Linked DNA regions of Homo sapiens: regions 1, 3 and 4 are each linked to region 2. Evidence: promoter capture Hi-C in 16 types of primary human blood cells and fetal thymus (Javierre and others, 2016). All regions are on one chromosome and are shown on one strand. Each heading gives the region's core, a stretch centred on a gene start or on the middle of the fragment in contact. The rest is flanking DNA. Distances are from core to core; before and after follow the strand shown.

What was found. The method cuts DNA at HindIII sites, captures the fragments that hold promoters and counts their contacts. A CHiCAGO score of 5 or more calls a contact.
Region 1: the fragment with the promoter of NT5DC4 here is called in contact with the fragment with the promoter of IL1B in region 2 in 4 of 17 cell types (neutrophils, monocytes, naive B cells and 1 more); the score reaches 9.0 in neutrophils.
Region 3: a contact is called between a fragment that was not itself captured here and the fragment with the promoter of IL1B in region 2, in 8 of 17 cell types (megakaryocytes, monocytes, M2 macrophages and 5 more). The highest score is 24.1, in megakaryocytes.
Region 4: a fragment that was not itself captured here is called in contact with the fragment with the promoter of IL1B in region 2 in 7 of 17 cell types (megakaryocytes, M1 macrophages, endothelial precursors and 4 more); the score reaches 13.1 in megakaryocytes.

The regions. Positions count from the first base shown.
Region 1 is chr2:112,717,839-112,722,498 of GRCh38, forward strand. It overlaps NT5DC4 (5'-nucleotidase domain containing 4), which reads left to right and starts at 3,182. Exons shown (of 17, transcript NM_001393655.1): 1 at 3,182-3,315; 2 at 3,980-4,053; 3 at 4,148-4,265; 4 at 4,345-4,440; 5 at 4,645-4,660. The coding sequence starts at 3,242. The HindIII fragment of the contact is 3,072 bases long and covers 3,149-4,660 here.
Region 2 is chr2:112,834,147-112,839,308 of GRCh38, forward strand. It overlaps IL1B (interleukin 1 beta), which reads right to left and starts at 2,633. Exons shown (of 7, transcript NM_000576.3): 1 at 2,562-2,633; 2 at 2,037-2,098; 3 at 1,420-1,471. The coding sequence starts at 2,083. The HindIII fragment of the contact is 1,771 bases long and covers 990-2,760 here.
Region 3 is chr2:112,757,687-112,763,076 of GRCh38, forward strand. It overlaps CKAP2L (cytoskeleton associated protein 2 like), which reads right to left. Exons shown (of 9, transcript NM_152515.5): 2 at 4,817-4,883; 3 at 3,027-3,078. Among named protein-coding and RNA genes, the nearest start is that of CKAP2L, 4.2 kb to the right of the region's middle. The HindIII fragment of the contact is 1,418 bases long and covers 3,130-4,547 here.
Region 4 is chr2:112,927,706-112,932,805 of GRCh38, forward strand. It overlaps the pseudogene CDK8P2. Among named protein-coding and RNA genes, the nearest start is that of IL37, 19 kb to the left of the region's middle. The HindIII fragment of the contact is 3,948 bases long and covers 271-4,218 here.

The DNA.
Region 1 (4,660 bases), core at 1,932-4,431, 120 kb before region 2:
TTCCTCCACCTTTCTTTGTCTTTAACGACATTGAAAAGTCAAGGGACTTTTGTGATGGGCCATGGGCAGAGGCGGTTTTGCCTACCGATTAAGAATACGGATGCTGGCACCCAGCTGCCTGGGCTCAGTCCCACTCTGCCATTTATCAGCCTGGTAAGTGTGGGAGAGTTGCTTAACCCTTCTGTGCCTCAGTTTGATCATTCATGAATCCAGTGAACAGTTAGCCTGTCTCGTGGGGCTGTTAGGAGGCTTGGCACACAGTAAAAATGGGCAACCATTTGCTTATTGTTATGGTGGCAAGTCTTTTCTTGAAGGGGCTCCCAGTGCATCAAGCCTCACAGGGGTGCCTTAGCATTGGCTCAGGAATCAGGACCAAGCGGGGCCTGTGGCAGCCTGCAGTCCTCCCTGACTGTACATGCGGTTAGCCTAAGGACTCTGTGGTCTGGACAAGCAGCCATATCCTAAGACGGTAGCAGAGACCATGCCAGCCAAAGACTCAACAGGGATGTGGCTACCTTAACAGACAGCAATGTGAGGACCTGGGACCCTCCAGGAAGTGAAGCCCTTCCCAATTACCAGTGTGGCTGCGGATAAGTCCCACACTGTCGAGTTGACCCCAGAAGAGGTACCTGGAGAAGGGACCCGAGAAACCACTGAAGTGATTCATCGTACCTGAACGTTGCTGGATGGCTTCACCACCCTCAGGTGCACAGAGCCTTCAAGATAGAGCCTAAGTTCAGCTATAGGAAAGGCAGGTTTTGTACAGCTGCCATGATGCCTCCCAGTGGAAGGGCTGAGCAACCCCTAGAGACTTCTCCTAACCAGGTATTACTCCTCCTTCTCTTTTCTGACCTAGAAAGGAGCCAGGCAATGTGGAAAAGGGGCTTAAAGGGCTCCCATGAGATGAGCAGAGCGCATGGAATAATGAGTGGAAGCGACTCCAGACAGCCTCCTGATTTCTGAAGCTCAGTTCTCCCCTGACACCTTCCGTGAAGGCTGCTGTATATAGCCTGCTAACCATCAGCCCGTCTATCCACGAATCTACCCATCCAACTGTCTGTCCATTCACTCATTCATGCATCCACCCATCTCTCCATCCATCCTCCATTCCTCCATCCGATGAGGAAACACATATCCTACAGCCTCCATATCCTTGCCTCACCATCTTAATACAGTCATGCGGGGCTTGACCACAGGGATCTGTTCTGAAAAACGTGTCATTAGTCGATTTCACCATTGTGTGATGTCATAGAGTGCACTTACACAAACCTAGATGGTACAGCCTACTACACACCTCGGCTGCAGGGTACAGCCTATTTCTCCTAGCCAGCATCACCACAAACATGTGAGTGATGCTTTGCATTATGATGGCGATGAGGTCACTAAGCCATAGGAGTTGTTGAGCTCCTTATCACCTTATGGGACTCAGTGGCATACGCAGTCCACTGTTGGGCGGAACATCGTTCCGCAGCACACAACTGTGCTTGCTCACCTGGCTTTGTCAAGGAAGGAGCTCTTCCATGGATATGTTTTTCTGTTGTTGTTCCAGATAACTTTTATCCTTTTAAGAGTGCCACCTTCATTTAGTTTAGTTTAGCCATTTTAGAGAGAAAGTGCTGAAACCGACTGTAAACTTGTCTGTCTTTTTTTTTTTTTTTTTTTTTTGAGACGGAGTCTTGCTGTGTTGCCCAGGCTGGAGTGCAGTGGCACGATCTTGGATGACTGCAACCTCTGCTTTCTGGGTTCAAGTGGTTCTCCCACCTCAGCCTCCTGAGTAGCTGGGATTACAGGCATGCGCAACCATGCCTGGTTAATCTTGGTATTGTTAGTAGAGATGGGGTTTCACCGTGCTGGCCAGGCTTGTCTCAAACTCCCGACCTAGTGATCTGCCCGCCTTGGCCTCCCAAAGTGCTGGGATTACAGGTGTGAGCCACTGCGCCAGGCCCTTTTCTTTCTTCCTTTCCTTTTCTTCATTTCCTTTCCTTTCCCTTCCTTCCTTCCTTCCCTCCCTCCCTCCCTCCCTCCCTCCTTTCTTTCTCTTTCTTTCTTTCCTTTCTTTCTTTCTTTTTCTTTCTTTCTTTCTTTCTCTTTCTTTCTTTCTTTCTTTCTTTCTTTCTTTCTTTCTTTCTTTCTTTCTTTCTTTCTTTCTTTTTCTTTTCTTTTCTTTTCTTTTCCCTTCCTTCCTTCCTTCCTTCCTTCTTTCTTCCTTTTTCTTTCCCTTTTTATTGACAGGATCTCACTCTGTTGCCCAGCCTGGAGTGCAGCAATCTCGGCTCATTGCAACCTCCAACCCCTGGGTTCAAGCAATTCTCCTGCCTCAGCCTCCCGAGAAGCTGCCAAGAGGCTAATTTTTTTTTTCTCCTGCCTCAGGCTCCCAAGAGGGCAATTTTTTTTTTCTTCGTATTTTTAGTAGAGACAGGGTTTCACCATCTTGGCCAGGCTGGTCTTGATCTCCTGACCACGTATCCACCCACCTTGGCCTCCCAAAGTGCTGGGATTACAGGCGTGAGCCACTGTGCCCAGCCTTGTCTTTCTTTTTAAAAGAGGGCCTGGCACTTCAGTTAAGTCTTTCTGGATGATCCAGGTCACCGCTCCAAATGGAAGTCACATGCTTGGTTGTGGAGCCAGTGGTATGGGCCCTCAGGGAGTATTTAGAACTCTACACTAAATGGCCCCAGTGGTTCTGCTTTTTGACACTTCCTTTTGTACTTTCTGCCACCCCCCCATTCTGAGATCCCAGTTATCTTCCCAATTCTTATAGCCCTTGGCATGCTTCTAGCAATGTCTTCTCTAAATGGCCTTGAGCTGGGAAATTTGATAACCAAATGTGTCAGAATTGTGCATAAAGCAAGAGTACTGAGTTATTTCTTTTATCATGAGTACAGTACGGAGCCTCCTGACTTTGTATCCCGTCATTTGCCTCATTCTGGGTTCTCCGCTACTCTCCAGGCCGCTGAGGTCCATGGATGCATAAGCCCTAGGAATGAGGAGGGTGCAGTGGACATGAATTGCTCTTCCTAGATCCTTGCTGCTTTTGCTCTAGAGAAAAGGATGGGATACCAGAGCCTGTCCTGGCTGACTCCTCCCTCAAAGGGGCTCGGGGGAGATGGGAGCACAGGGTGGGGCCAGCTGGGTCAGTGGTGCCTGAAGCTTCTGAGGGAGAGGAGAGTGGCTGGGCCCCACTGATAGTGTGCAGGAGGCTGAGGAAGGGACACTTGCCTCCTCCTCACTCTGGGTGACGATGGCCAGTGTAGACTGGAGAGAGCCGGAGGGACTGGTCTCCCCTCAAGGCCCGAAGCAGGACTGGCACCAGCGGTGAGATGGGCACCTGGGGTGGGGGCCAGGGGTCTCAGCCCATAAACACCCCACACGCCACAGCAGCACACAGGGGCTCCTTTAAATACACAGCTATGGGGACTCCCAAAATGCAGACGTACACTTGCACTCACAAGGGACGCACTTCCATAGCTGTAACAACCCATCAGGGAACTGACCACACACACTCCGGCGGGAGGTCCTCTTCACTTCCTTCCCTCCACGAAGATCTCTCCCCTTCACCACGGACACAGTGACATGTGCTATCCAATTGTGACAAACACATCATCTCTGAATTTGGACACTGGGGTCCCATTTCAGAAGGTGACAACCCTCACACCAACAACTGCACCTACTTTCTTACAGGGTTGGATGCCTATAACATGCCTGCATGGTGGGACAGCAAGCGGCTGATTGCCCGCACACACTCAGATGCACGCTTGCACACATGCTCACACATGCTTACATGCACACTCACACTTGCCTTCAGACACACATGGGTCCAGGCAGGGCCCTGGCTTGGCCTGACCTGCTTCCCCTGTGCTTTCTGCAGCTGCAGGGGGTGCTCTGCCCTCCTCTGCGGGGTTTCCACCCCCTCTGTCCTTGGGCCTTGGATTCTGGGGGGCTGGTGGACTGATGCCAACATCCTCCTCTCTCTCCCCAGGATTTTTGTCAACCGCAGCCTGGCGCTGGGGAAGATTCGTTGCTTTGGCTTCGACATGGACTACACTCTGGCTGGTAGAGAGGGCTGGAACACAGCGTATTGGGAGCTGGAGGGAGCAGGGGTGGGCAGCTGGGCACCAAAGCCCTGATTCTGTCCGGGCCTCTGCAGCCTACAAGTCCCCAGCTTATGAGGCCCTGACCTTCGAGCTGCTGCTGGAGCGCCTGGTGTGCATTGGGTACCCGCATGAGATCCTGCGCTACACCTACGACCCCACCTTCCCCACCAGGTGTGTGGCTCAGGACAGGTGGGAGGCCACCCGGCCTTGGTACCCCCACCCACAGTGCCCCCCGACCCCCCGTCTGCAGGCGGCTGGTGTTCGATGAACTCTATGGGAACCTGCTGAAGGTGGACGCCCACGGGAATGTGCTGCTGGGTGCCTATGGCTTCACCTTCCTCTCGGAGTAAGGGACAAAGGTGCCGGGAGAGTGGCAGGCCAGGAGGGGAGGACTGCTCACCTTGGGGGAGGACAGAGGGAGGGAGGGAGGAAGGACGCAGGCCCACGGTGGAGGCTCAGCACAGAAGGGATGCGTGGTGGTTGGAAGGGATGGCCAGAGCCTGGACAGGCCTCCAGGAGGCACTGGGGAGGGGTCATTGGCTGCACCCAGCCTACCCCTCCTCAGG
Region 2 (5,162 bases), core at 1,383-3,882:
ACAGGCTATTCTTTTAGAATAAATCCCATTTCTACTTTGTTCATCTTTTTTGTACATGCCCCACCTACACCATACATGTATACCTTCTCTATATCTTTTTGTATCCCTAATGCTGTCACACTATGATTTGCTTTTTCATGCAGATGACCATAACATTTTCCATTCACCTATGCTCACTCAGCAAGTATTCAATTTTTCTACACTGTTCTTTTTTTTCCTTTTTCATAACACTGTCTCATAGGCATTCTGCAAATCCTGTGAGAGTACTTTTTGTGAAATGTTACCACTTTCCTCTTATTCAGAGAAGCTCCGTATTAAGGCTTCACTGAGGTTGCCTTAAGGCATGATAATGGTTCAAAGGCTTGAAAGACAGTTAAAGAGACCTGTAAGTGCACAAAAGAAAGTTGAGCAGGAGAGAATTTCCTGCCTGGAGCAGAGCCAAGCTGCTGGAAGAGGCAATGGGGGCAAAGGCCAGGCAGACAAGCCAATGGGCTCCTCCCACAGCTGCAGCCAACAAGTTATGCCAGTCTTAAAACTTCTAAAGAAATATGTTTTTAACAAGATTGAGGACTGGATTATGAGGCTAGGGGAGGCTATCACAAACTGGAATAAAATAAAGCCAGAGAAAAGTGGCTGCCTCCCAACCTGCACAACTGACCTAGCTAGGCTGATGGCTGGGCCACCTAGGAAGGCTACTGAGCATCATATAAAACAGAAGGGACAGCAGGAATATAACATGGCTCTTTGTAAGGATGAGTCTGAAAAATGACCATTTGCTGCCCAAATGCCCTTAGCTACAACTGAAAATATTTCAGAACTGGAGGTTGCAGGATGCTGGAATCTCAGAGATCATCCAGCTCAGCCCTTTATTTTTCAGATGAGGTCCAAAGCGGGTAAAATGACTTGTCAAGGTCAAACAGCAAGTGAATGGTTTTCTTTCAAGTCTCAATTCATCTTTTTGTTTATATCATCTATGTCTTGTTGTTATAAGCTTCACCCCAGGTAGCAAAAAACTATTCTACTCAAAAGGGGTAGACATATGTTAGTTCTCAAGATCATCTCTTGGTTTCAGAGTTTAACTCAAGTGATTGGCATAGGCTGAATCCATCTCTTAAAAGGATAATCAAATTTATGTTGAAGACTTGGTTGTCTTCCTACTATGAAATGGGAAACATTATCACTACTCCTCCCCTGTCACCACCAAGTGTGGCCACCACCACCAACGTTAGTGAGTGACTGTGGTGATATGATGACCAAGTGGCCAGGTCAGCAAGTGGTGCAGCCTGTGTCTCACTGGAAGAGGTTAAAGTCTTTCTAAAACAAAATACCATGGCATCAAAGTGGCCCAGAACTCCCTTCTTTGAGCTTTCCCTGTGTTAGAGCCCTTCCTTGGGTTGGGAGTTAAACCCATAGTCTTACCTTCATCTGTTTAGGGCCATCAGCTTCAAAGAACAAGTCATCCTCATTGCCACTGTAATAAAAACAGGGACATGTCTCAATTATGTCTTCTAAACAGGTTTATTTTTCCTTCCCTGTGTACAAGACTTGACTGTTCATAAGAAACTGCAAACAGCCTGCCTCTCAAAGCTGCCTGAAACACCTGGCAAGTTTCACAGTGATATGCGCAGAACAGTCCAGAAGGCAGATTCTAGGCCTGGCAGGTGGGCACCCTGGGTGCTCCCTGTTGGATCTTGAGGCCTAACCTCTAGCCCAGCAGAGTCAGCTAAAATCTGAGCTCTCCCTCTCCCTCCAAGCCACACTTTGCAAAGGGATTCCTTGTATTGTGGGCTTGGAGTCTTTTCTCCCCATTTGCCTCTGCAGGAAGCCCTTGCAACAACACATCTGGATAGCCTCCAGGTCCCAAGGCTGGAGGGACTTGTAATGGGAAAGTAGTCTTTAAATCAGATTTACTTGGCACCCTGTTTGCCACTGAAAGAGGCAATTTAGGGGAAAAATCTGGTCTCCAAGCACAGATAACACTCTACTCTTGAAAGAGGAGACCTGCTCATGTTACTGGTCTCAGCGTCTCCACTGACCTGTAATAAGCCATCATTTCACTGGCGAGCTCAGGTACTTCTGCCATGGCTGCTTCAGACACCTGTGTAAAAAGGAGAAAATGAGTGACTTCCCCATGACGGCTACGTTCATGTGTGATTTCTCTCAGCATCCAGTGCATGGCAGTCATGCAAAGAAATGATCTCTGAGTAAATGAATGAATGTGTGAAAGAGAAGTCCTTTGGGTCTAGAGAAAAGCATTTGCTAAACCAAACCCCAACTAGCAATGTATTGGCTAGGAGAGCTGGAGCAGAGGCTTTGACACTAACCTTTAGGGTGTCAGCTGTTAGATAAGCAGTATCCATTCCCAGAATATTTCCCGAGTCATAAGCATTATATTACACCTGGCATTTTTGCAAAAAGCTGAGAGAGGGAGGCAGAGAGGGAAGGAGAGGGAGAGACAGAGAAAGAAAGAGAGAGAGAGAGAGAATATGCATACACACAAAGAGGCAGAGAGACAGAGAGACTCCCTTAGCACCTAGTTGTAAGGAAGATTAAAGTCATACTTGAGCAATGAAGATTGGCTGAAGAGAATCCCAGAGCAGCCTGTTGTGCCTTGTGCCTCGAAGAGGTTTGGTATCTGCCAGTTTCTCCCTCGCTGTTTTTATGGCTTTCAAAAGCAGAAGTAGGAGGCTGAGAAATTTCTCTGTTGAATACCTGATTTCACAATCAAGTTAAAGGAAAGGGGAAAAGAGTATTGGTGGAAGCTTCTTAGGGGAGGGGACTAATAAACTGAGATAATTCTCTGGTTCATGGAAGGGCAAGGAGTAGCAAACTATGACACATTTTGCAAATGTATCACCATGCAAATATGCATTGTTTTCCTGACAATCGTTGTGCAGTTGATGTCCACATTAAAATACTGGATTTTCCCACGTTAGAAGAATGTTTAAATTTAGTATATGTGGGACAAAGTGGAAGACACACAGATTTATACATGCACATACTTTTCTTCATTCACTTCTTTGTACTTAAGTTTAGGAATCTTCCCACTTACAGATGGATAAATGGGTACAATGAAGGGCCAATAGCCCTCCCTGTCTGTATTGAGGGTGTGGGTCTCTACCTTGGGTGCTGTTCTCTGCCTCAGGAGCTCTCTGTCAATTGCAGGAGCCTCTGAGGAGAAAATTGACCTTTCTTGGCTGGGGCAGAGAACATACGGTATGCAGGGTTCAGGCTCCTGACGGAGTTGGGGCAACCCTGGAGATAAGCTCACACAACCCTGCAAGACCAGGTGCTGTTACCCTAGCCAATCTCATGGATGAACCAGATCAATGCCAGATGAGCTCTGCCTAAAATGATTTTTTGGTGAACTCTGAAAAGTGGAATATTGTTTCTGTAAGAATATCCATCTGAGACTCTATCTCTTGGTAATACCAACCAAGAGTTATCAGTTTCTCTTTAACCGAGACACCAGCAAAGTGCCTGCTCCAGGGTACTGCCCAGGGGAGCCCTCCATTTGTAGAATGAATGAGAGTCCAGGTTATGAACAGTGCCTGGAGTGTAGGAACACCCTCCTTTGCCTCTTTGACAGGTCTGCATCATAACACTTTTTTTTTTTTTTTGAGACAGAGTCTCACTCTGTCGCCCAGGCTGGAGTGCAGTGGCACGATCTCGGCCCCCTGCAAGTTCCGCCTCCCGGGTTCACACCATTCTCCTGCCTCAGCCTCCCCAGCAGCTGGGACTACAGGCACCTGCCGCCACGCCCGGCTAATTTTTTGTATTTTTAGTAGAGACAGGGTTTCACCATGTTAGCCAGGATGGTCTCGATCTCCTGACCTTGTGATCTGCCCGCCTCGGCCTCCCAAAGTGTTGGGATTACAGGCGTGAGCCACCGTGTCCAGCCTGTAACACTTCTTATAGCACTGAGTTGAAACCTTGCTCCTCCTGGTTCCTCCAGGAAACTGAAATCTTTTTGAGCCAAGTCTAGCACAGTGCCTGGCATGTACATTCAGGTGGTAGAGTTTGCTGCTTGAATGGGTGAATGGGAATTTGACAGCATTTTTATTCAAATTAGTATGTGCCAGGTATCGTGCTCGCTCTGCATTATCCAAGGGAGTGAGCCTCTGTGCAAGTATTTGAGACACGAGGGAAATAGGTTCTACTGTGGGAAAAAGAGCATTTCATGGACTTGCTCTCCAAGCAGCCTTCTGATTTTTAATTTGGCTCCCAGTATCTTGATATCAGGAGTCAGTCACAAGAACTCCATCTTTAGTAAGTTATATTTTCCACAGGAAATCTAAAAGCTGTTCAACATGTTAGTTTCCTGTGAATTTGATAAGCCATAATCCATTCCTAACACTGAGCCCTCCTGAAATTTGGTGTCTGGTCCTGCAGATAGCTAAAAGCCCTGTCTGGGTGGCCTAGGGGACTCCTCTGTTTTGCCTCCACAGGATCCACTTTGCAAATTAACCACTGGTTCTCCCGTTGTAGGAACTGCCACCTTCCTCAGAGCCTGTCTTTCTTCCTTCCTTCCTTCCTTCCTCTTTCTTTTTCTTTCTCTCTCTCTTTCTTTCTTTTCTTTTCTTTCTTTCTTTCTTTCTTTCTTTCTTTCTTTCTTTCTTTCTTCCTTTCTTTCTCTTTCTCTCTTTCTCTCTTTCTCTTTCTTTCTTTCTTTCTCTCTCCCTCCCTCCCTCTCTCTCTTTCTTTCTTTTTCTTTCTTTTCTCTTTTCTTTCTCTCTTTCTTTCTCCCTCCCTCTCTCTCTTTTTCTTTGTCTCTCCCTCCCTTCTCTCTCTCTTTCTCTTTCTCTCTCTCTCTCTCCTAGACAGGATCTACCTTTATCCCCCAGGCTGGAGTGCAGTGGTACAATCATGCATTCATTGCATGATCACAGCAGCCTCAAACCCTTCCTCAGAGTCTTTATGCGGCAACCAGCAGGGTCTGGAGGGTTGGTGGCTCTGTGAACTCTCCTGACAGAACACAGAGATGTCTTTGGTCTGTTGATGTGATTACAAGCTGAACGAAGGAGGATCAAAGCCAGTGACAGGAAGGGAGATATGCAAGGGACCCGAGCATCAGCTCTGAGTTAGTCCATTCTGCTTCTGGGACTTGGGATACAGGTCAGAAACCTTGAGCTTCTACTTCTCCATCTTCCAATTGTAGCATC
Region 3 (5,390 bases), core at 2,589-5,088, 75 kb before region 2:
TCCTAACAGGTAGTTTTTACAACTTGAGTTCCTATCAGAAGTATATTAGAATCTTTTAGCTTGACAGAATTAAGCAGAGATGCAGTGAATATACAAAACTTGCTCTTTCAAAAATGAATTTGCCTCAAACAGTAGTTGTTGAATGCCTATTATATCCTAAGTGCCCTCCAAAGAACCCTGAAAAAATACATACATAATGAACTTATGTTAGGGTACCTCCCAACAAATCTCTCCTAGTACTTTGTATAGCCACACTATATGTTTTTTAAACCACTGCCTTTGTAAACATCACAGTATCACTCAAGAACCTCTGTCTCATCCCTGGAGATCAGTGACAAGGAGATAGGTGGCAGATGATGTGAGGCCTGAGATATGCTGCCACAGCTCTCAATAAACATGTAACATCTTAATAGTCATATTTGTAAAATCAGCCAGGACAGGGTTTTAAGGTTAGAGTCTATGTTAATAATAAACAAATGTTTAGTCATGTGATTTAAGTTTGGATAAGAAAGGTAGGACTCGATTACAGAGAATTTTGAAAACTAGGGAAGGGAGTTTAGAATTCATATGGTAAGTAATTGGGCAAGCCACTATGAATTCCTGAGCATCTCTCATGAAAGCAATTACTCAGAAAGGAGAATTTCACAGAGATTTATGGAATATGTTTCCAGGGTAAGATATGGGAATGCTAGAGTTACCACTCTATTTTTGATTTGACAAATATTGTGAAGAATCACTACATAAACTTGGCGAGTATGTAAAGGATTTCTAACCAGAACCATTTGGCATTGAGGGCAAAGAGATGTCTACTCTGGATGATAGCGGTGTGTGTGGTGTTACTAGGAGTGAAACAGCGGAGTTGGGAGTGGGAGGCAGAGAGATGGATGGTATACCCACAATGGCTATATCTGGATTAATCTTTGAGCACCAACATTTATATACACCTCGGATCTCTCCATCATTGCTTACTGAAGAGGTGGAGGGACGTTGGCATGAAAGCTTCCAAATGTGTTTTTTTAGTTGCTTTCTTATATATTAAAAACAAATTGATATAATCCACAAACCATAAAATTCACCATTTTAGTAAGTGCACACTTCTGTGGATTTTAGTATAGCCACACTATTATACAGCAATCACCACTGTCTAATTCCAGAACATATTCATCACCCTAGAAAGAAACTTGGTTTACTTGTTGGCAGTCACTCCCCATTTTCTGCTCCCTGCAGTTCTTGGCAACCGCTAGTCTACTTTCTGTCTCTGTATGTCTATAGATGTGCCTATTTTAGATGTGTCATATAAATGGAATCATGTAATATGTGGCCTTTTCTGTCTGGCTTCTTTCACTTAGCATAACGTTTTCAAGATTTACCCATGTTGTAGCATGTATCAGTACTTCATTACTTTTTAAAATTAACTTTTTTAGAGCAGGTTTAGATTCACAGCAAAATTAATAATAGTAAAAGTATCTATTATCTAGGAAGGATGCCATATATCCCGGTTTTCACAAGATAGTTTTGATTTATGCCTGTTGGTCAAAGAGTACTGCTTTTTACTCTCAAAGTGTCCTGGTTTGGACATTAAAGCATATGGCCAACTTCCTCACATGGTTGTTCTGAGTGAGGTAATGTATATAAACATGTCTGGGTGTTAGTTATTGTTGTCATGTATCGAAAGTGTTATATAAATTGTCAAGCATTATATAACTGTAATGATGACTATTATTTACATCGTGCTTTTAGTTTCTCCTAAATTCTGTAATTCCCTTCCTGAGTTCACTTTTTACTTTTACAACTGTGTAAAGCAGATAAGGTAGGTATCATCCTCATTTACGAGCTGATGTACTGAAGTCAGTATTGTCAACTTCCAGAGAAGCCTCTGGGAAGTCTGAATGAGGGCCCTTTCCAGTAGATTTTTCCTTAAGACTTGCATACTATACTGGTTCAATCTGCATAAAGTAAAAGTGTAACCCAGTGCTTCCCAAACGTTAAACCATTGTTCATAAATTTTGCCTTATATACATTTTGCTATCCTTCACAGTGTCTAATGATGTCATGTATACATACAACATATATATGTCTACATATGCATATGCATATGACTGAAATATGACTGAAGTGATTTGGTGAATCATTAAAACTTATTAAAATTCTCACCAGTGAGAATTTTTCACTTCAGGAAGCACTATTTTAGTTACATTTCAGAACACAGATAAAAACTTATATGTCTATATATGCATATGCATATGACTGAAATATGACTGAAGTGATTTGGTGAATCATTAAAACTTATTAAAATTCTCACCAGTGAGAATTTTTCACTTCAGGAAGCACTGTTTTAGTTACATTTCAGAACACAGATAAAAACTATGTTTTAAAAAACTAAAGGTGAGATTTTTATTGCAGATGAATAATCTGTGCCTCTTTCAGAGGGCTAATTTCTTCCATTTAAACTTTAAGTTAAGGATCCTTTACCATTCTATCTAATGTAGCTAAATTAAATTGATTAGGAAGCATATACTTGTTAAGTGGCTTGGAAGGTTCAATGCAAATGTTCTCTTTTAATGACTACTGAGCTATTTAACTTCATGGCAGCATACCAAAGTGGTTAAGATCACAGGCTCTCAGCTTTGTCACTTAATAGCTATACGACCTATTTAACCTTTCTGTGACTTAGTTTGCTTATCTGTAAAGTGGGGCTACTAATAGTAGCCTCATAAGATTGTGAGGACTCAGTGAGGTAATGCAAGTCAGAAAAGTATCAGGCACACAGTAAGCATTCAATAAATGTTAGCTATCAAGAGGACTAAAGTTCACTTGAGGCTTTTCTTGGTTAATAAAACTAAACTACTTTTCAAAAAATGTCATACTTTTCAAAAAATGATTGTCTCTTATTAAACCAAACTGTTTTTATATCTGTAAGAAATACCTTTCAAATACATGTTCTTTAGGTTGCTAACATCTTTATTATTTTTATTACTAATCATACTTATGAATGCATATTTTTAAAAAGACTAATTTCTACTTACAGATTTAGAAGGTGGTTGATTCTGGCAATTATTCTTGGATTTTAGATAAGGCCTATAAAAGACAAATTAAAATTAATCCTCAGCACAGAAGGATTCTAAGCTAAGCTTGGGAAGTACAGTGATTAAAAATTATGAATAGAATTTTAAATAATTAGAATTTCTGTAATGGCAAAATAATTCAAAATTATATTTAATAAAGTCTCCTTATCATCATTTCTTTAGTTCTGTATCCTCCCCCTTGGAGACCACCAACTGCTCCTACTCTTTTTTTTTTTGCCTTGTGATCCTTACAGAGACTGTCTATACATAAATCTAGCATTCTCACAATATTAATGAGATATATGTGTTTCCTTCATATTTATATAGTCTTACTCATTCACACATCATTCCTGGAGCACTGCAATGTGCCAGACACCGAAGACACAATGCCAAATAAAACCATTAACTGCTTCTTTAAAAAATTTCCGGCTGGGCGTAGTGGCTCACGCCTGTAATCCCAGCACTTTGGGAGGCCAAGGCAGGCGGATCATGAGATCAGGAAATAGAGACCATCCTGGCTAACACAGTGAAACCCCATCGCTACTAAAAATACAAAAAAATTAGCTGGGCATGGTGGCACATGCCTGTTGTCCCAGCTACTCGGGAGGCTGAGGCAGGAAAATGGCGTGAAACTGGGAGGCAGAGCTTGCAGTGAGCCAAGATTGCGCCACTGCACTCCAGCCTGGGCAACAGAGTGAGACTCCGTCTCAAAAAAAAAAAAAAAAAAAAAAAAAATTTCCTTGTTTTCAGTATCTTCAAATACTATCTCTTCTAACTTTAAGGGGGTAAAGAAATATTAAAAAAAAAAAAACCAAGACACACATGAAATATAGCTAGTGAGACAGGAAATGCAGAAAAAGGATTGGAAAACAGAGGTGAATTTAGAAGGAATCAATCTGCATGGACCAAAAACAATTGCTAGACTAACAAGGACTTTGATTATGACTTGTTTGATGTTTGTCTCTCCCATCTACAGCATAAGCCCTGGGAGGGCAGGAATGTCTGTCTTGTTAAGCGCCATTATCTCTAGCATCAGAAGTGACTGAGATGTTATAGGTACTAAATAAATATTTGTTGAATAAGTGAATTAGGTTCATTTAATCAAGGAAATAGAGGTGAGTAAACACCCAAGATAAAATAAAGGGTGAAAGCTAACTTTGTAAAAATTAATTTTCAAATAAATACTTAGCAACTCAAATGGGGAAAAAATTAATTAATGCTAAGAAAGGACAAATAACACGACAAAGATGGTAAGAATCTACAAAGGATAAAAATGAAGTGGACATGTTCTGTCTACCTTAACAGTAAATGCTAAGAGAATGACCCAAGAGCAGAGGGTATCACTCTGCTACGGAGGATTGATTGTAACTGGCTCTCCTGCCTTAGCAAGAAATGCCAGAACCATGGTCATTCAAGTTCTTGACCAAAAACTGCCTTCATGAGAATCAACTTCCCCAAGAAAAAAAAAGCAGAAACAGGCAAAGCTTCCAGCATGGTAGGTAATACTGACCCTTCTTCCCTCCTTCCTTTGGAGATTCACACAGTAATAATGCATAAAGCTTTGCCAATGGACTAAGCACTGCCCAGGGGTTTTTGTCATGCCTGGACTGAAATGCTCTTTTTGCGTTATCATAGAATCCCAGTGCAGTCTGAGTAGACTCTAAGCAAAAGGGACATTTTTCAAAAAGGCTTTAAATTGCTAGTACAAAGAAGGCAACAAAACTTGCGTAACTGTGGACAGATAAACTCACTTGGTGTTTTGGCTCTTCAGTTTTCCCTTGGCTGCAAGGTACTCCTGAAGCTTTCTCTGCCGCTCTTCTGCAACACAGGCAAGCAAACAAACGACATAACTTTAGTTCAAGATTTTAACCAGTTCATTAATATTCTAAAAGATGACACTTTTCTCTAGTGATTTTGCCTTTGCAACATAATGTTATAAAATCCCTAGTCCTATAAATGTGCCTTCAAGCTAACATCAACATCAACAATATCATTTATATGCCAGGCCTACACTAAGTTCTTTAAACTTACTACTTTTTTTTTTTTTTTTGAGACAGGGTCTTCCTCTGTCACTGAGGTTGGAGGGCAGTGGCACAACCACGGCTCACTGTTGACTTGATCTCCCAGGTTCTAGCAATCCTCACACCTCAGTCTCCTGAGTAGCTGGGAATACAGGCGTGTACCACCATGCTGGATAATTTTAAAAAAATTTTTTGTAGAGACAGGATCTCACTATGTTGCCAGGGGTGGTCTCAAATTCCTGAGCTCAAGTGACCCTCCTGCTTTGGCCTCCCAAAGTGCTAGGATTACAGGCGTAAGTCAAAG
Region 4 (5,100 bases), core at 995-3,494, 93 kb after region 2:
GTGCCACTGCACTCCAGCCTGGGTGACAGAGCAAGACCCTGTCTCGAATAAATAAATAAACAAATATATAATTATAGATCTCTGGATCTTGCCTTCGGAGACTGACTCAACTAACTGGTCTGGGTGGGAGCCCAGCCATTTGTATTTTTTGAAAACTCTCCAAATGATTTTACTGTGCAGCCAAGGTTGAGAATCACTGTATCATAGGGTTGGACTCCTAACTGGAAACAGTTTGCACCATCAGGTGTCGCAGCATTCTGATAATAGTTAAGCTTTCCTCCTAGATTTTCTGATATTAGATGAGTCATGTTTACAAGTTTTTACCAAGAGACAAACTATCTTTCTGCCCTTACTTTCTCTCTTATACTATTCTAATCCCAGAACCCTTTGGAACTTCCACTGAGAGATGAATCTAGAAAGTGACTCTCTTGGCTACAACAGAGAGTAATGTTGGCCTGTTTGTGCCAGATCCAGTTGGTGCTGGTGGTGGGACAGCACCTCCCTGAAATCCCCTCCTCTCCCGTCAGATTCAGTCCCCCATTTGCATCACGTACAATCATCACTATGGGTTTCTATTACCTTGCTAGGGCATTTGGAGGTACCATATATACCAACTATTAGTTTTGAGCCATGGTTCCCAAAGTGTGGACTGTAGGGCACCTCAGCACACTCACGAGGTGTCATGGGATATTTAAATATTCTGAAGAAAACACAGTGACATCTGTCAGGCCCGTGAAAACCGTTGGCATTAAATTGTCTCAACCCAATTGCTTAAGAAGCAGAACTGGCCAGGCACGGTGGCTCACATCTGTAATCCCAGCACTTTGGGAGGCCGAGGCGGGCAGATCACGAGGTCAGGAGTTCGAGACCAGCCTGACCAACATAGTGAAACCCCGTCTCTACTAAAAATATAAAAATTAGCCATGCATGGTGGCATGCACCTGTAACCCCAGCTACTCAGGAGGCTGAGGCAGGAGAATTGCTTGAACCTGGGAAGCGGAGGTTGTAGTGAGCCAAAATCGTGCCACTGCACTCCAGCTTGGGTGATAGTGAGACTACATCTCAAAAAAAAAAAAATGAGAGAGAGAGAGAGAAGCAGAACCATCAGGTGTTTCTTTTGGCTTAAAGTACTCGGTGAAGAAATTCCTGGGACACGAAGGATACCATGAACTGAGAGATTTTGGGAACCTCTGCTTTAGAAGCTGGAGGTAGCATTCCTTGGGCACAGTACTGCCTTGGGATCAGCAAATCCTTTTGATGGTGCATTTAGGTGTGGCAAGACAGCTCTTAGAGTGGGACCGGGATGTGCTTGGAGACAGAGGGAACTAGATTGAGCTGCCCGATAAAGACATGCCAGCCTGGCAGAGTGTAGTGACTCATGTCTGTAATCCTAGTGCTTTGGGAGGCTGAAGTGGGAGGATTGCTTGAGGCCAGGGGTTTGAGATCAGCCTGGGAAACAACAAGACCTCTACAAAAAAAAAAAGAAAAAAAAAAATTAACCACATGTGGTGGCATGCACCTGTAGTCCCAGCTACCTGGCAGGCTGAGGTAGGAGGATCACTTGAGCCCAGGAAGGTAAGGATACATTGAGCCATGACTGTGCCACTGCACTCTAGCCTGGGTGACAGAAAGAGACTCTGTCTCAGAAATAAATTAAATAACTAAATAAATATATAGTGGCCATGACATCCCTAGAAAGACAAGGTCCTGGGAATAGGTAGAAGCCAAGGGAAATGAGAAATGAGAGGGGGCCCTGGAGCTGGAACTGGGGGAGCAGGATGGCCTCTGAGAAGTTCCTGATAGTGGTGTCACTGATGTGTCTGATGTTTAGTTGTAATTATTTGCTGGGCCCCTGTCATCCCTCATATCTGATAGCTCTTTGCTAGTCAAAGTGTGGTCTGGGGATCAGCGGCATCAGCATCACTTGAGAACTTGTTAGAGATGCAGAATCTAGAGCCCTACCCGGGACCCAGAAACAGAGCCTGCATTTTAACAAGCTCCCCAGGTGATTCTCACACACACTCGCATTTGAGAAGCACTGGGCTAGTTGACAGATTCTCAGGCATGGCTGACATTGAAATATCCAGGGAGCAGGCTTGGCATTAGGATGTTTAAAAGTCCTCCAGGTGTTTCTAAAGCCAGGTTTGAGGAATTACTGGGCTGATACAAATGTTTTGTGATGATGCTTTGTGTGTGTGTGTGTGTGTGTGTGTGTGTGTGTGTGTTGGGAGTTCTGGGTCAGTTGGCACCAACACAGGAAACAATTGAAATATGTGAGCCATGACAGAAAGGTCAGGAGATAAAAGAAATTAGTGACATGAGAGGTACTCCTCAGGTGTTAGGAAATAGGGTAGAGCAAACCAGGTTTTCCACCATATGTTGGATAGGGGTTCAAGTAAATTTCTACTTAAAAATTACAAACAGGGGCTGGGCGCGGTGGCTCATGCCTGTAATCCCACACTTTGGGAGGCTGAGGAGGGCGGATCACAAGGTCAAGAGATTGAGACCATCCTGGCCAACACGGTGAAACCGTGTCTCCACTAAAAATACAAAAATTAGCTGGGCATGGTGGTGCGTGCCTTTATTCCCAGCTACTCGGGAGGCTGAGGCAGGAGAATCGCTTGAACCTGGGAGGTGGAGGTTGCAGTGGGCCGAGATCGCACCACTGCAATCCAGAGCGAGACTGTGTCAAAAAAAAAAAAAAAAGAAAATTCCAAACAGGATGACCCTAAGCCTGCAGGACTTGGAGACATCTAGGTGACTGATACTCAGTCACAAAACATAATTGGTCACAGGCCTGATGAAATGCACAGCAGACCTTCAGATGGTATGCACTCAAGTGATATCCACAAGTCCACCTAAAGAAATGCTATATTCAAACATTTGGCATCAATCTCTATCAAACAAAGATAGTCCAAAGCAATGGGTTCCAAAAACACTTTCCTAAGACAAATTCTCTATTTGCTTTTAATATCAGTCATCCCAGCCCTTGGAATAGAGGAGCAAATGATACCAGTGGTACCCTACCACAATGCACCAAGGTATTATACTCTCATGCTCCATTTTCTCCCTCTGTCTACATCACTAATAACTCATTGATTTCTGGTGCAAGCCCTCCTGGGAGAAAAAGTCTACTCTTGTACCTTGGAGCAAGTTGTTCAGAGTAGGTATCGAGGATAAAATTTGGAAAGTTAGAAAAGCTATTAGAAGGAGATCCTAGTAGTTGAAAACACAGCCTGGCCAAGTCAATGATGCTATTTCATCTCCCCAGCCTTGCATGTCCATAGCTAAGGAAGACAATTTAGGCTTGGGCTAGAGGATGGGAAAGGGCAAAATTACTGATGCCACAGCCCAGAGAGGTATTCTAGTAATCTGAGGGTGAGGACCACATACCTGGTTCAGGGACGTACAGTGTTGACAGCTGTGAGTGGATGCCTGGAGTTCTGGCATGTCTTCTAGCACAATGATACCTGAGACTCTTGCATCATTGGGAATAATAAAATGGGAGTGGATAGATATGAAATTATGATGGCAATAAGCAATCAGCTAATAGCTTCATTGATGGGACAGATTAAAGATGGCTGCAGATCCTTTGGTCCAGGGTTGGGATACAGGCAGCATTTGTATTGGAATGCTGATAGTCTGAGGCCATGAAAAGTCCACCTGCAGTAGTGGTAGGAGGAACAAGCCTCACTTTCTTCAATGTGTGTGACTGCTGTCTTGATTCCCTGGGTGGCCAGTTCCATTCGTGTGGTTCTTTGGTCCACTTGACTCTGGGGTGGCTCTGTGATGGCTTGACCAATAGAATGTAGTGGAAATGATGCTGTAATCATTTCCAGCCTCTTCCAGCCTTAAGGAACTGGCAACTTTTATTTCTGTCCCTTGGAATACTTGTTCTTGCAACCCATCCATCATACAGTGAGAAATTCTAAGCTGCCCCCTTAAGAGGCCCACATGGTGATAAATTGGGGTCTTACATACAGCCCTAGCTGTGCTCCTAGCTGACAAACAGTAGCAACTTGTCACCAGGCGAGTGAACCACTTAGTACTGTATACTCCAGCCCCAGTTGAGCAATGTGGAACAGAGTAAACCATCTCAGCTTAGCCCTGCCCAAACTGCAGAATTATGAGCAAAATAATCCACTAGGCTTTGGGCTGATTTGTTCCAGATTACTGGAACAGAATTTGGTACCAGGGGTGAGGTGCTACAGCAATGAAAGCTTAAGACACGTGACTTTGGTTTTGGGTCTGAGTGGCAGGGGAGCTTGGCAGGCCTCAAGGAAACTTTTAGGGAGGGTTGAAGCATAGTGAGGAAAACAGTAGGGGAAGCTAGAGGAAAAAATGATGCTTGGTATGTAGTGGTGGGAAGTTTAGCAAAACTCGCCTGATGTAATGTGGGAAATTGTAAGAACTCAGAACGATTTAAGGGCATGTTTTATAGGTCCTTTAAGAAACTTCTAGCCCGGGCGCAGTGGCTCACGTCTGTAATCCCAGCACTTTGGGAGGCTGAGGTGGGCGGATCACAAGGTCAGGAGATCGAGACAATCCTGGCTAACATTGTGAAACCCCGTCTCTACTAAAACTACAAAAAAAAATTAGCCGGGCATGGTGGCGGGTGCCTGTAGTCCCAGCTACTAGGGAGGCTGAGGCAGAAGAATGGCGTGAACCCGGGATGTGGATCTTGAAGTGAGCCCAGATTGTGCCACTGCACTCCAGCCTGGGCAACAGAGTGAGACTCCGTCTCAAAAAAAAAAAAAAAAAAAAAAAAAAAAAGAAACTTCTAGGGCTGGTCCCATGGAAGCCTCACACATGGTACACAAAGGCTGTCTTGAAAAGAAACGTAAGTGTGTTTTTTGGTTTAATAAAATTGATTATAAATGGATAATGCAAAACATTTTAAAGAATTTTACTAGCTTACATTAGCAGATTTGGATCCAGTGATTGTTACATTCTGGTACTGAGCCCCTGAATTACTTCTTTGAGTAAGGCATTATACCAAAGCTATTGATAGTTGGGCTTATAGGGTGTATGTTTGAAGAACTACTAATGTCAAAACCAATATTTCACGGTCGACAAGAGGACATCAGAACTGGTAATCCT